Regions from separate parts of the Homo sapiens genome. Here all the other regions are linked to region 3. The links are contacts of gene promoters, found by promoter capture Hi-C in blood cells and fetal thymus (Javierre and others, 2016). All regions are on one chromosome and are shown on one strand. Each heading gives the region's core, a stretch centred on a gene start or on the middle of the fragment in contact. The rest is flanking DNA. Distances are from core to core; before and after follow the strand shown. Region 1 overlaps LOC101928369 (a long non-coding RNA gene). Region 2 overlaps U2AF1 (U2 small nuclear RNA auxiliary factor 1). Region 3 holds the start of SIK1 (salt inducible kinase 1). Region 4 overlaps LOC107987300 (a long non-coding RNA gene).

The links. The method cuts DNA at HindIII sites, captures the fragments that hold promoters and counts their contacts. A CHiCAGO score of 5 or more calls a contact.
Region 1: a contact is called between a fragment that was not itself captured here and the fragment with the promoter of SIK1 in region 3, in 2 of 17 cell types (endothelial precursors and M1 macrophages). The highest score is 6.1, in endothelial precursors.
Region 2: a fragment that was not itself captured here is called in contact with the fragment with the promoter of SIK1 in region 3 in 1 of 17 cell types (total CD8 T cells); the score reaches 5.7 in total CD8 T cells.
Region 4: a contact is called between a fragment that was not itself captured here and the fragment with the promoter of SIK1 in region 3, in 2 of 17 cell types (endothelial precursors and M0 macrophages). The highest score is 12.4, in endothelial precursors.

Annotation. Positions count from the first base shown.
Region 1 is chr21:43,126,979-43,130,364 of GRCh38, forward strand. The region is part of intron 3 of LOC101928369 (a long non-coding RNA gene); the gene reads left to right. Among named protein-coding and RNA genes, the nearest start is that of FRGCA, 12 kb to the right of the region's middle. The HindIII fragment of the contact is 1,089 bases long and covers 731-1,819 here.
Region 2 is chr21:43,102,169-43,105,393 of GRCh38, forward strand. It overlaps U2AF1 (U2 small nuclear RNA auxiliary factor 1), which reads right to left. Exons shown (of 8, transcript NM_006758.3): 2 at 2,147-2,234. Among named protein-coding and RNA genes, the nearest start is that of U2AF1, 3.8 kb to the right of the region's middle. The HindIII fragment of the contact is 2,917 bases long and covers 485-3,225 here.
Region 3 is chr21:43,425,881-43,429,203 of GRCh38, forward strand. It overlaps SIK1 (salt inducible kinase 1), which reads right to left and starts at 1,251. Exons shown (of 14, transcript NM_173354.5): 1 at 1,130-1,251; 2 at 143-312. The coding sequence starts at 298. The HindIII fragment of the contact is 3,848 bases long and covers 1-3,323 here.
Region 4 is chr21:43,158,627-43,161,753 of GRCh38, forward strand. It overlaps LOC107987300 (a long non-coding RNA gene), which reads right to left. Exons shown (of 3, transcript XR_007067885.1): 2 at 48-102. Among named protein-coding and RNA genes, the nearest start is that of CRYAA, 8.8 kb to the right of the region's middle. RefSeq lists an enhancer at 2,449-3,127. The HindIII fragment of the contact is 4,113 bases long and covers 1-3,127 here.

The DNA.
Region 1 (3,386 bases), core at 25-2,524, 300 kb before region 3:
GTACCACCATGCCTGGCTAATTTTTTTTGAATTTTTAGTAAAGGTGAGGTTTTGTCATGCTGCCCAGGCTGGTCTCAAACTCCTGGGCTCAAGCCATCTGCCCACCTCGGCCTCCCAAAGTGTTGTGATTACAGGCGCGAGCCAGTGCAGCCAGCTGGTTATTTCTCTATAGCAATGCAAGAATGGCTTAATACATCTCCCCTCCCCTACATGGGACAAGGCCATCTGATAATTAACCTTCCTAGCAACTCAGGACTAAGCTCCTGAACATAAAGGGAGCCAAAACAATTTGCATTTTTCTATGAGGCCTTCTTTGAAAGGTCTTGATGAAAAGGGGAGAAATGGGGAAAAAAATAGCACAGAGCAGTCTGAGCTATGTGAGGTGTGCCAAAGTTATCAGGCCCAGAGAGACAGGAGAGTGGGGCTTTTTGTTTTGTTTTTGTTTGAGACAACATAGTGAGAGCCTGTCTTTATAAAAAATTTTAAAAAATTATCCAAGCATAAGGGCATGTGCCTGTGGTCCCAGCTACTGAGGCAGGCTGAGGAGAGAGGATTGCTTGAATCTGGGAGGTTGAGGCTGCAGTAAGCTGTGATCACACCACTGCACTCCAGACTGGGTGACAGAGTGAGACCCTGTCTCAAAAAAAAAAAAAAAAAAAGAACCCACTGCTGCTAATTGGAGCATCTATTCAGGGGAACTTGAATCTAGGCTCCCAGGTGGCCATCCTTAAGCTTTGGGCTTGAATAAACTTTGTACTTAATCATATTTTCTAAATCTCATTATTTAAAGTCGAGAATTCATTCCTCCCTTCATCTGTTCATTCATATGTCTGTCCTTTCACCCACCAATCCGCTCATCTAGCCATCCACCCATTTGTCTGTTAGTCCGTCCATCCATCCATCCATCCATCCACTCACCCAGACATCCATCCATCCATCCATCTGTCCTTTCACCCACCCATTTATTCATCCATTCATCCATCCATCTATCCATCCCACTGAGTCATTCATCCATCTATCCATCCATCCATCTGTCCGTCCATCCATCTTATATTTTGGGGGGCATGTCTGATGTGTCAGATACTGTGGCAGGTGCACAGACACAAATTCGGAAGACAGATCTCCACTTAGAAGTGTGCCAGGCACCTCAGCTCAACATATCTCCAGCTGACTTCATTTTATCCTTCTCCTCCCATCTCTTGACGTTCTGTTCAAGCATTTAGTAAATGCCAGTCATCTATAGCCTGAGCCCACCTGGGTTGCCCTAAGTTGTCTGATTCACATCCATTCTAATTCCTTGGCTTCTCTCAACCATGTCTGCTCCTTTTCCTCCTCTTGGCCATTCCTGAGTGTACCTGGATCACTACAGCAGTATCTATGCTGTTTCCTCCTTTTCTAGGTGACCATTTGTCCTTCTGCCAGAGGGCTCTGTGGGAAATACAGATTCGATCCTGCTGTTTCTTACTGGGAACCCTCCATGGCTCCCAGTCCCTGGAATGTGCCGGGCAACTTTCAGCTCTTGGTCGTGGGAGCCTCCTGCCTGTGCACAGTGTGTTCTTCCAGGACCCATGCCCACTCCCTCCTTCCCAGCATTCCAGTTTGGCCCTTGAGGCCTCCTTGGAGTCATCCCCCTCCCAGATGTGCAATGCATTTTGGGTTCTCAACAGCTTCCCCTCCTTACCTGCAAAGGTTGAACAGACCTGGATCTGCTATCCTGCTTTGCCACTTCCTGCTGCATGACCTGCATTATGAAGTTCTCTAGACTCAGGGTTTCCATTGGCTAATAGGATCAGCCAACCTGCCTTTGAGGAGTGGACGAAGCTTGGCACTTAGTAGGTGCCCATGAGGCATCAGAAACTGCCCTTGTTGAATGATGCTCTAATGCGGTGTTGACATCTCTGTCCTACTAGACTGGGGTTGCTTTGAGGACTCCAATTCTGTCTTTTCATCCTGATTCCATGATGGAACAGACCCACAGGCCCTTGTCAGCATTCCAAAAAGCAAAAAGCTGTGAAAATGAAAAGGACTTTTTTTTTTTTTCTGTAAACTTGGTGCCAAAATTTGCAAAAGCTGACCTGACCCAAGGTGTTGGCAGCATCCCAACACTCCCTCTGTTACAGGCACCTCTGCTGGTTGCTGACAATGTATATGTTTTAATTTTTAAAATGCATTTGTCTTTTTGTGACCATGGGTTTAATTGCACTGTGAATTCATACAAAAAGGGTAGCATGTACCCAGTGCTCACTGTGGGAAGGACACATGGAAACACTCTCTTTGTCAATAGTGCAGAAAGCATCAGTGATGTTGGGAAGCCATCAAAAGACAAGCAGTTGGGCTGTGCGTGGTGGCTCATGCTTATAATCCTAGCACTTTGGGAGGCTGAGGTGGGAGGATTGCTTGAGGTCAAGAGTTCAAGACCAACCTGGCCAACATAGCAAGATCCCCTCTCTATTAAAAAAAAGACAAACAGTTGAAAATTTATAATAATTGTGATTACCAAGAGCCATTGAAATATGGAAAACACAGGGTCAGTGGGGTGTGGTGTAGGGAGAGAGATCTTGACCAGGAATGGATGGAACGGAATTGGCAATGAAGTAGTCACTGTATGCCAAGGAGTGGTTTGTTGGTTATGAAAGAAGCTGGAATACAGCAGGAAGAACTGAACTTTAAAGGTGAGCATGAATATTCAAGAAGTGTCATGGTGTAAAACAATCTGCATAGCTGTGGTGGAAAGGCTTCTTTCCTGATCAGGAAACAGCTGAAAATTACATTGATGGATTTGTATCCTCTGAAAACCTTAGTCTCAACCAGGCGCGGTGGCTCACGCCTGCGATCCCGGCACTTTGGGAGTCCAAGGCAAGTGGATTGCTTGAGCCCAGGAATTTGAGACCAGTCTGGCCAACGTGGCAAAACCCCATCTCTGCAAAAAATACAGAAATTAGCCAAGCATGGTGGTGCATGCCTGTAGTCCCAGCTACTCTGGAGGCTGAGGTAGGAGGATCACTGAGCCCAGGGAGGTTGAGGCTGCAGTGAGCCAAGATGGTGCCACTGCACTTCAGCCTGGGTGACAGAGAGAGACCCTGTCTGAAAGCCAAAAAACAACAAAACCTAAGTCAGAACAAGTTTGTGTAGCTGATGAGTCAGGCAGCTTCACCTGTGCTCCTTTCTAGACAGGCAGGATGGTTGCGGAGAGTCACAACAGGCGTCCAGGAGGAAAGGCACGAGATGATGCTGGCCAAAGCTAGTTGTGGTTGGAAAAAGCCACTGGTGTGAACGGTGTATGCTAGTATGCAAGGGAACATATACTGGGAACTCGAGCCATGTTTTCTGCATGGTTTAATAATCCTTTGTATCAGTGCCAGGAATTCACTGCAGATAAGCTGGTC
Region 2 (3,225 bases), core at 693-3,192, 320 kb before region 3:
GAAACCCACCCTGAATTATGCTAGAGATTTACAAGCTAAAGCAATCACTCGCATGATTTAGAAAAATAAATGTTTAGTCTCAACAATATCCACGTGAAGCAGTTTTGTAAGTGGTGGTTTTATAAAACCAGCCAGCTCCATTTCTAGCTCTGTTTAAAGGGGAGTGGTTGTATGAAGAGTTCCTCAGTCAAAGGTGTGCAGCTGGGAAGCCCACCCCACCTAAGAGGGAGGTCTGACAAACTGTCCACACTGAACCACTCAGACCTGCATCAGGGCCCCGTTTCTTCCATAAGCCGCCAAGTACAGCCCTGAGTCAACTGAACTCAGGCCTGGGAGGCTTCCCAAAGCTGACTTGACTCAGCTTTGAACTGAAATGACCGTACCATGACAACCCTGATGAAAAGCTAAACTGAGCCCAATTATTCAACAGTAAAATTCAGTTGGTCTCACTCAGGTATTCTGGCAGTGGCTATTTAATGAAGGAAGCTTAACGTAAAGAGGCAATGCAGTCTAATGGGAAAGCCAAGGGTGGCTAGGATTGCCTAAAACCAACCAAAACAAACCCACGCATCAAACTAGGATGCTTAAGCTGACACATACTACTGACCCCATCGAGCTCCAATGGGCTCTCCCCAGCACTGACCTGGAATGCCTAAATTAACTTCACATTTCACATTCTCAGGTAATCTATGATCCAGAAAAACATAAAGAAAGTGCCTCCAGCCAGATTAAAGAAAACTTTTAGAATAGGGAACAGTTGATTTCTCTCAGCCCAACACTTGGGACACCCCCCAAAATCAAAGAACTGGGTGGTCACTTAAGATGCTTGGTTATACCACAATCCATGGCCACTGGTTTAGTTAGGGGAGATTCGGTTCATAAATCAAAACATTAAAGAAAAAACAATTGCAATACACAGAAAATGTAAAGCTAGTTCTCCAAGATTTTGAAATTTGTAAAAAGAAACTCATGTTCAGAGCTATCAAAAGACAGACTGCTATTATACTAACCACTTGGTAATTAGCATAATGGAGGGAAAAGCCATCATCCTCTTCCCTTCTAAAAACACTGTGTGCTGTGGGGTCGTCCATGGGCTTCAACCGGAAAAAACCCATGTTTCCTTCTCCCAGCTCACTTACACAAAGTGGTAGATTTTCTTAAATGCTTACAGGAAAACGTATACAGACAGATGTGAGCTCAAAGGCAGAGCCTGGCAGCTCCCAGGGACCACGCATAATAGCTACTCAACAGCTCAGAGGCTGCACATTTAGACTTCAAGGGTGGGTTGGAAGGAGTTCCCCAGCCCTCCATCTGGAAAGACTTGGGCATCGATTTTCAAATTTCAAATGTTCTCATCAACGTGGGCACAAGTTTTCTGCTCCGATTAGAGGTGCCTTCTCCCTTTAATCCGTAAGTGATCCTTTATAGTGTACCAACCTTTGCCTTTTCTTCAACTAACCAAAAATAAAACTATCAAAACTCACAACTTTTGATTGAACTGAACTCAGAGCGGATCTAAGCCCAAGATAACAGGCACTCCTCAATTAACCAAACAGACCCGCTAAGAGCAATTTACGGCCCATTTTCTACCTTTCAGCTTAATTTTTCATGTTTCCATGACGTGATGCGACTCGCTGTTTCCTCAGCTAGGGATGTGAAAGTGAGGACGCAGCCAGAGAAGCTCGAGCAGCATGATGGGCCTGGTGACAATCACGCTAACTTGGAAGGTGGCTCCATCACCTCTACTGTCTGGAGACAGCAAAGAGCAGAAAGCCCACTCCGTGTCCACTGGTGCCTGGAGGAGGCTAACCCAAGGCTGGCACGGCCACCCCCTCTGGACCCATGTCTATCAGAGGGGGTAGGGAAGATGGCAGGGCAGCAAATATCAGGCACAGCCAACACACAAACATCAAAAACTGATTTTTAAAGTTTCTCTAATGATAAAAACAAGGAGTGGTGGTCTCAGACCTTCCACTGGAAGTCGATCACCTGCCTCACTATTATTTAAATAAAAGAACACACTTATGAACACAAATGGAAAATACAACTACGAGAGAAAAAATGACTTGCTTAATATGTAGAAATTAACTGTCTTTGAAAAGAACATGAAGTTTTTATAATTTACATGAAAAAAAGGCAAACAAACCTGGCTAAACGTCGGTTTATTGTGCAACCGAGAGCACCTGTCTCCATGACGACATGCTCCAATTTTGAAATAAAATGAACAGTTGACTCTGTAAGGGAAAATGAGAGCTGATTATTTTGCTGGGAAGATATCAAACACATGGAATATGTCAGCAGCATGACATACACTATCAAATTACTTTTAACCTCACAGAAACATGACACAGACTTTTTTCCGTGGTATTAAGCACCTCCTCTTCCTTGCTGTATTTTAGGACAACGTAACTTCAACTTCCCTTTCTGCAAACACACTACTTGTTCAGCAAAGACGGTTCTAACTCTAACCCGCCTCCTCCTCATTCAAATCCCCTCCACTTTCCTAACTGCACAGCTGTTCTGTTTGTTTCTTAAATGGAGTATTAAATTAGTCTAAAACTAAATGTAACTTAGGCAGTATCTGTTCTCCAGTTCTCCACGACCAAGTTCTCTCTTGAAAACACCGGTGTGGTGAGGGTTAAGATCCCAACTCTGCTACCAGCTGCTTGGGCTTGGGCAAGTCACCCTAGCTCTCAGATGTCATCTGTAAATGATGACAATGCCAATGTGGCACTGTTCTGAGAGTCAGACAGAACGTATGTGTGCTTCACATATGGTGCTCATGAAGTGCTATCATTATCTAAGGAAAACAGAAAACGAAGTTCAGAGTCTCTCTAAACGCATGACACCAGACCAACAGGGAGTTTCAAAAAATAGGTCTGAAGTAAATCAATTCTCCTGGTCTCAATACACTGAAAACAAACTATTAGGGGACTGACCGAACCCACCTTAGGAACCACCTTACGTCACCTTCTGTCTCTACTGCAAAACCCTCCCTTAATACTGTTCAAATACGCTGACAATCCAGATCCATATCCAATGGAACCAGCAATCATGCCTGTGTGCCAGCAATGTCAGGGAGGGAAGCCGATCTCTGATGAATTAGGACATCTTACCAGACAGACTTTGTTCAAAATTCAATTTTTTTTTAACCAAGTGCCATTATGTTTTAAACAGTCAATCCAGAGTTAAGATTGAAGGGCCTCAACCTCAGTGAAATCTAAT
Region 3 (3,323 bases), core at 1-2,500:
GAACTAAAAACGGTTACTATTTACCCACCACGACAATCAAGCCTGGAGCAGTGAATCTGCATGGGGTCCACCCGCCAAAGGTCGGGTCGCCCCGGGTCCAGTGGGGAGGCCCCGCCGGCTGGGTCCCACCGCCCCCACGCACCTGCGTTTTGGTGACTCGATGCCGCGCCAGCTTCACCACCGCGAAGTTGCCTTTGCCCAGGGTCCGCTCGATGTCGTAAAAACCCACCCGGAGGGGCTTCTGCTGGCCCTGACCCTGGCCCGCGGGGTCCGCGCTGAACTCCGACATGATAACCATGGCTCCGCGCGCACCTGCGGGGCCGCACAGAGCTCAGAGCCCACCAGCGCCCCCGCCGCCCGCGGTCGGCTCCATCCGTGCCCGCGGAGCCCCCAGTCCCCACGGGACGCAGGGACCTGCTCCCACGCCTGTCGCCCCCACTCTATCCACGGGCCCCTCCAGCCCCGTGGGAGGTGTGGACCCGCCCCCGCCGCCCGCTCCACCCGGACCCCCGACCCTCTTGAGCCCCGCGGGGCGCACGGACCCGCTCTCATAGAGGCCCCTGCCGCCCGAGTCCGGTTCCGTCCCGATCCCGGGACCCCCTGAGCCGGGATTCCACACTCGCCTCCCGCCGCCCGCTGTCGGTTCCGTCCCCACCCTCGACCCCTTTAGCACCTCTGGGCGCGGACCCGCTCCCACACCTGGCCCTGCCACCCGAGGTCGGCTCGATCCGGATCCCAGGACCGTCCCCTGCCCCGCTCCCACACCCTGCCCCCGCCGCCCGCGATCCGTCCGGTCCCCACCCCCGACATCCCAGGCACCTCGGGGATCGCGGACCCGCCCCCCACACCCGGTATCTCCGCCCGCGGTCGGCTCCAACCTGACCCCCGGCTCCCCAGCCCCTGAGCCCCGCGGACTCACTCCTACCCCGGCCCCCCAACAAAGGGGAGCCCGAGGGCGGCCAGGCCGCCAACCCCGCCCGCGAACCCCGCGCGCGCAAGGCCAGGGACCCTGCGCGGTGGCTGCAACCCCGAGCCCCGGCCCGGCGCCCGCGCGGAGCCCCCACGGCGGCCACCTCCGCCCGCCCGGAGCCCGCCGCTGCCGCCGCTGCCGCCGCTGCCGCCGCCTCACCTCCGCCGCCACCGGAGCGCCCAGGCCAGGAAGCCGCCCGCTCGGCCGCTGGCGCTGCTCGGGTGCCTACTGCTCCGGCTGCCGCCGCCGCTGCTGCTGCCTCCGGGGCCGCGCCGCATGTCAGCCCGGAGCCGCCGCGCTCCGCCGCACGCGGCGCCCGGCCCCGCCCCGGCCCGCCCCGGCCCGCCCCCCGTAGTCCCCGCCCCCTGCCCCGCCCCCGCCGCCCGGGCGGGGGCCGCCCATTGACGTCGCTTTGACGCCAGAGCGACGCGCGGCCGAGCGCCGGGCGGAGGGAGAGCGGGAGATCGGGCGGTTGCCAAGAGACTGGCGGCTCTGACGCGCGCGGGATGAGGCCGTTGCCCTGGCGACCGCGGGCCGGTGACGTCAGGGGCGCCCGCCGCCCGAGGCCCGCCCGCCTGCGCTCCGCCGGGCGCCCCCTCCCGGGCGCTGGGGGCACTGCGGGCGGCCCCACCGCCGAGGGCGCGCCCGCCCCTCCACGCTCGGGCACTCGGGCCGGGTCCCGCGGGCGCCTTGTGCTCGCTCCCTCCAGGAGGGGACGGCTCTCGGGCAGGGGTCGCCGGCCCCTCCACGCGGCCTGCGTTCGTCCAGACTCAGAGCCTCGGGACGTGCGGGGGCCCGGGGGCCTCGCGGGCTCGCGCGTGGGGCTGGCGGCGCGGATGCCCTGGGGCGCTGCAGACCCCGAGAGGCCGCTTGCCCGCGGGGACGTCAGCCGCTTTTGCTGTTAAAATCTGAAATGTTCAGCAAGTTAGAAACTTGAAACCTAAGGAAGCGTGACCGGCCGCTCTGGAAGCCCCCGCCGCGCGGCCGGTCCCGGCCCCGGCCCTCAGCGGCGCTGGCGTCTGCGCGTCCCGGGGCTGCCCCCGCAGCATGTGGGGCTGGGACCCTCTTCCCGCGCGGGCCCCGGGCGGACGCTGCGGGCGGTGACGGAGCCAGGCCGGCCGCCTGGGTAGGGGACGGGGGCGCGGGACCACTTGCTTGCCCGTGGCCGATGCCTCATCCGAACGGAAAACGTTTTCTTCAGGGGAGACAGAGGCTGTGGGCGAAGGTATTTTTTAAGCCTGAGGACCCATTTGGGAGTTAGATTCTGGATCGAGCCTAGGGTCAGTTTTCCTTGTGTTAAATAACACTACTTCACAGAAGGGGGAACGAGAATTCAGGGGAGTTGGCACAAAACTTGGAACCCTTCTCGGGAGGCTTTCCTGCCTGGACGGACGCCTGGGAGGAGGGCCCGGAGAAACGAGGATGAGCTTCTCCTCATTCGCCCGAGGGTCTGACCACAGATTTCCCAATCGCCACACACACACACACACACACACACACACACACACACACACGGGTTGTTTGGGAGTCAGTTGGTTTTCAAAGGCTTTCAAGGAAATGAAGAGTCCCAAAGTTTTCCTTAATCGTTCAGAGTGTTTTTCTTTGTCCCAGGTTTATATACCAAGAATACGGGGGAATATTTTTAGTTCCTTTCAGCTGAACAGTGTACAACTGCCTTTTTTCCTTTTGGAGGTCCCAACACCCTGTTAATCCGCTCCTAGGAGAACTAAACAAAAACAAGGCTGGACGTCGTGTCTCCCGCCTGTAATCCCAGTGCTTTGGGAGGCTGAGGCAGGAGGATCAGTTGAGCTCAGGAGTTTGAGACCGGCTTGGTTAACATAGCAAGACCTCACCTCTATAAAATACTTTTAAAATAGCCAGGTGTGGTGGCACACGCCTGTGGGGCCGGCTACTTGGGAGCCTGAGGTGGGAGGATGGCGTGAGCCTGGGAGGTTGAGGCTGCAGTGAGCTGTCATTGCACCACTGCACTCCAGCCTGAGCAAGAGAACAAGGCCCTGTCTCAAAAAAGAACAAAGATAAAAGGCGGGGTGGGGGAGAAACCAGGCCCCTGATCACACTCACCATTCAGTCCCTCAGCCTGTGACTTGAAATACTGCCCCCCGCATCCAGGAAGCAGGCTTCCCCACCCCTCCCACCCTAGCCAGAGTCTTCCAAAAGGTCTTAGGTATTTGCAAACACCTGGCTGGCTGTTTGGAAACATTGCATCAGCACCAAATAAAAACTGCAGCCAAAACTGCCTCCGCAGAACAGGTCCCCAAACTCAGGTGCACTTGACCTTTCACCCTGACCCAGCCCTGAGCTTCCAAAACCCAGAACAGCCCTGTGCCAACCA
Region 4 (3,127 bases), core at 152-2,651, 270 kb before region 3:
GACCTTTTCAGGAACGCAGAAGCAATTTCAGAAAAAATGATACCTACGTAACAACCAGAGCAGTGAGCAGATTCTTTTTAGGTCATGATGCAAACACATCAACTGTAAAAGAACATATTTGAGACAATCAGGGTTATCTGATGAGGGACTAGGTTTTAGATGACATCGAGAAATTGTTAGGAATCCTGTCAAACGTGAGAGGGAATTTGCGCTTATAGAAAGAAATGTTCGATTTGTAGGAGAGGTACCTGAAGTGCGCGGGGGTGAAATGACGTGGCGTCTGTGCTTTGCTTTAAAATACTCCAGTAAAGAAAAAAACCAAGAGAAGCGGGAAGCAGGGCAAAATCCTCCTAATTGTTGGATCTGGCTGAGGAGTATGTGAAGGGCTCATTGTTCCATGGTCTCTACTTTTGAGACTGTGTAAAAATTTTCATGATAAAAATAAACTCAATGAAGTAGCATTTGCCGCCACCGTAAAAGTAATACCCCGTGATGGGCGCACCAGGTGCTGGCCCGCAGGGGGAGGGCGGGACGTCACTGGCTCTGTCCCCGTCACCCATGACCTGCACGTCCTGGCAGTGGTGAGCGCCCAGTGTGTGCTGTGGGACAGAATTATCTCTAAACCCCCGAAAGAGGATCCTCTCCCCAACTTAACTCCAGCCTCGGAGGGCCTCGGGGGTCTATGGCACACTCTCCCTGCTGGCTTTGTTCTGGAAAGGGCTGGCGGGACATGACCGGCCCCACGTTGCACTCTGAGGGCAGCTCGGGGGTCTGCAGGGGACCATCCTGTGTAACCTGCTGACCTCGAGGAGAAGCAGGGCGAGGGCTTAGCTCAGGCACATTCCCCGCTGAGCCACAACAATGCCCCATCCGCCCTACACAGGCGGATTTGTGTGTGAGCCCCGCGGGGCCCTGGAGTGGAAAATTGCAGCGCCAGCCTTTGTGGGGCAGACTGCTGGCGTTACGGGAATCCTGTAGATGAAGTGAATGTGGCCTTTGTGTGAGGGGCTGGCATTGAGCTCGGGTGCAGTGGGGCGGCAAATCGCTGAGGACAGGCTTAAGCTGGGCCGCGGAAACAATGCCGGGGAGCCACGGAGGAGCCATCGCAGAGGCCGGGAAAAACCTCCCGACAGGGCTCGATCTGTAGAGATATTTGAGAAAAATGATCTCCGAGACAGTGGCTTACACACCCCCACGCATACACACCACGGACACACACCACACACATCACACACACACCATACACTATAGATGTACCACACACACACCCCACCACCTATACAACACACACCACACACACCACACACACACCATACACTATAGATGTACCACACATACACACCCCACACCACCTATACAACACACACCACACACACCACAGACACACACCACAGATATACCACACACACACCAGATACACAACATACACATCACACACACCACACAGACACACACCACAGATACTCCACACTGCACACACATCATACACCACACACACACCACACACACATCACACACATCACACACACATCACACACATCGCACACCACACGCACCACAGAAACATCACACACCACACATATACCACACACCCCACATTCCACACACCCCACACATCACATAAACACCACACACACACCACTCACATCACACACCACATATACCACACACATCACATATACAACACACACCACACACACACCCCACACATCACATATACAACACACACAGCACATACCAGACACATCACACACACACACACCACACACACTATACACGGTACATTGTACACCACACACCACACACACATCACACACACGTCACAGAAACCCCACACACCACACATATACCACACACACACACCACACACGTCACAGACACACCACACACACCACACCCATCACAGAAACCCCACACACCACACGTATACCACACACACACCACACACGTCACAGAAACCCCACACACCACACACACATCACACACCACATATCCAACACACACCCCCCACACACCACACATATCAAATATACACCACACCCCCACACACGCTCCCAGACCAGTTGGAGCCCTGCCCTCGCACCCCAGATCCCGCACATCTGTCCCTCTGTTCCCTTGGCCTCCCACCCCTTCTCCACCCTCAGGAGCCCCATGCAGCCCACACTGGGTCCTGCCCAGCCCCTGGGCCGGAGGGGATGGTCCCCCTGCGCCGTCCCCAGCGCTGCCCACCCTGCAGAACGTCCTCAGGCGGCCGGGCTCCACACCTGCGACAGGCCCGAGGCCCCGGCTGCAGGCCCCACTCGGCTGCAGTTCCCGTCGAGGCAGCCAATGGCCTTGAGGCCTCTCCCAGGTGGGACGGCCCCTGCGAGGGCTGGTGGGCACAGGGGCCAGCCCTGCCCCATGGCCTTGCTCAGCTGTGGGAGGCGTGCCTTTTCTTTCTCTGATCTCTGTGAAACTCTTACTTTTTCTTCCCCGGGGCGGGGGGGTGAGGGTCGGGCCTGTGGTGGCACTGCGCTGAGCCAGGCATGCTGGGCTGGCGTCTCCCTTGCTGGGGCGCAGATGGCCTAGGTGGGGCCCGTGTGGAAGCTGCGTCCATCTGACTCTGCCGCCTGTGCGGTCTCTGCATCTGTGAGGGGGGACCCAGCAGCAGTGGCCCAGGGTGGGGCTGGGACTGAGGGTCAGGCCGGATGGAGCTGTGCGGCGGCACCTGGCCCACATTCTCCCTGCGGCCACCAAGACCCCAGGTGGGCACTGGCACCTTGGGCTATGCCCAGGTCCCCACCCTCAGCCTTCTCTGGAAGCTGCTGGCTCTGTGGTGACCCCCTCCCGCACCCCCTTAACCCAAGGCGGGTCCTTTGGGGCCCACTGGGTGCTCTGGCTGGGTCTGCCCTGGGCTGGTCACTCTCGCCAGGGTCTCGGTCCAGGGCACAGGCAGGAGTGACGGTTACTCTCCAGGAGGCCGGGAGAACCAAGAGACATCCAATGAGGAAGGGCTGCCCATGCTTAAAGATGTCCAGTGAGGAAGGGCCACCCGTGCCCAGGGACATCCAGTGAGGAAGGGCTGCCTGTGCCCAGGGTGATCATGTTTGCACAGACCCCGGTGTGCCTGCGGGGCTGAGCTGTTTGC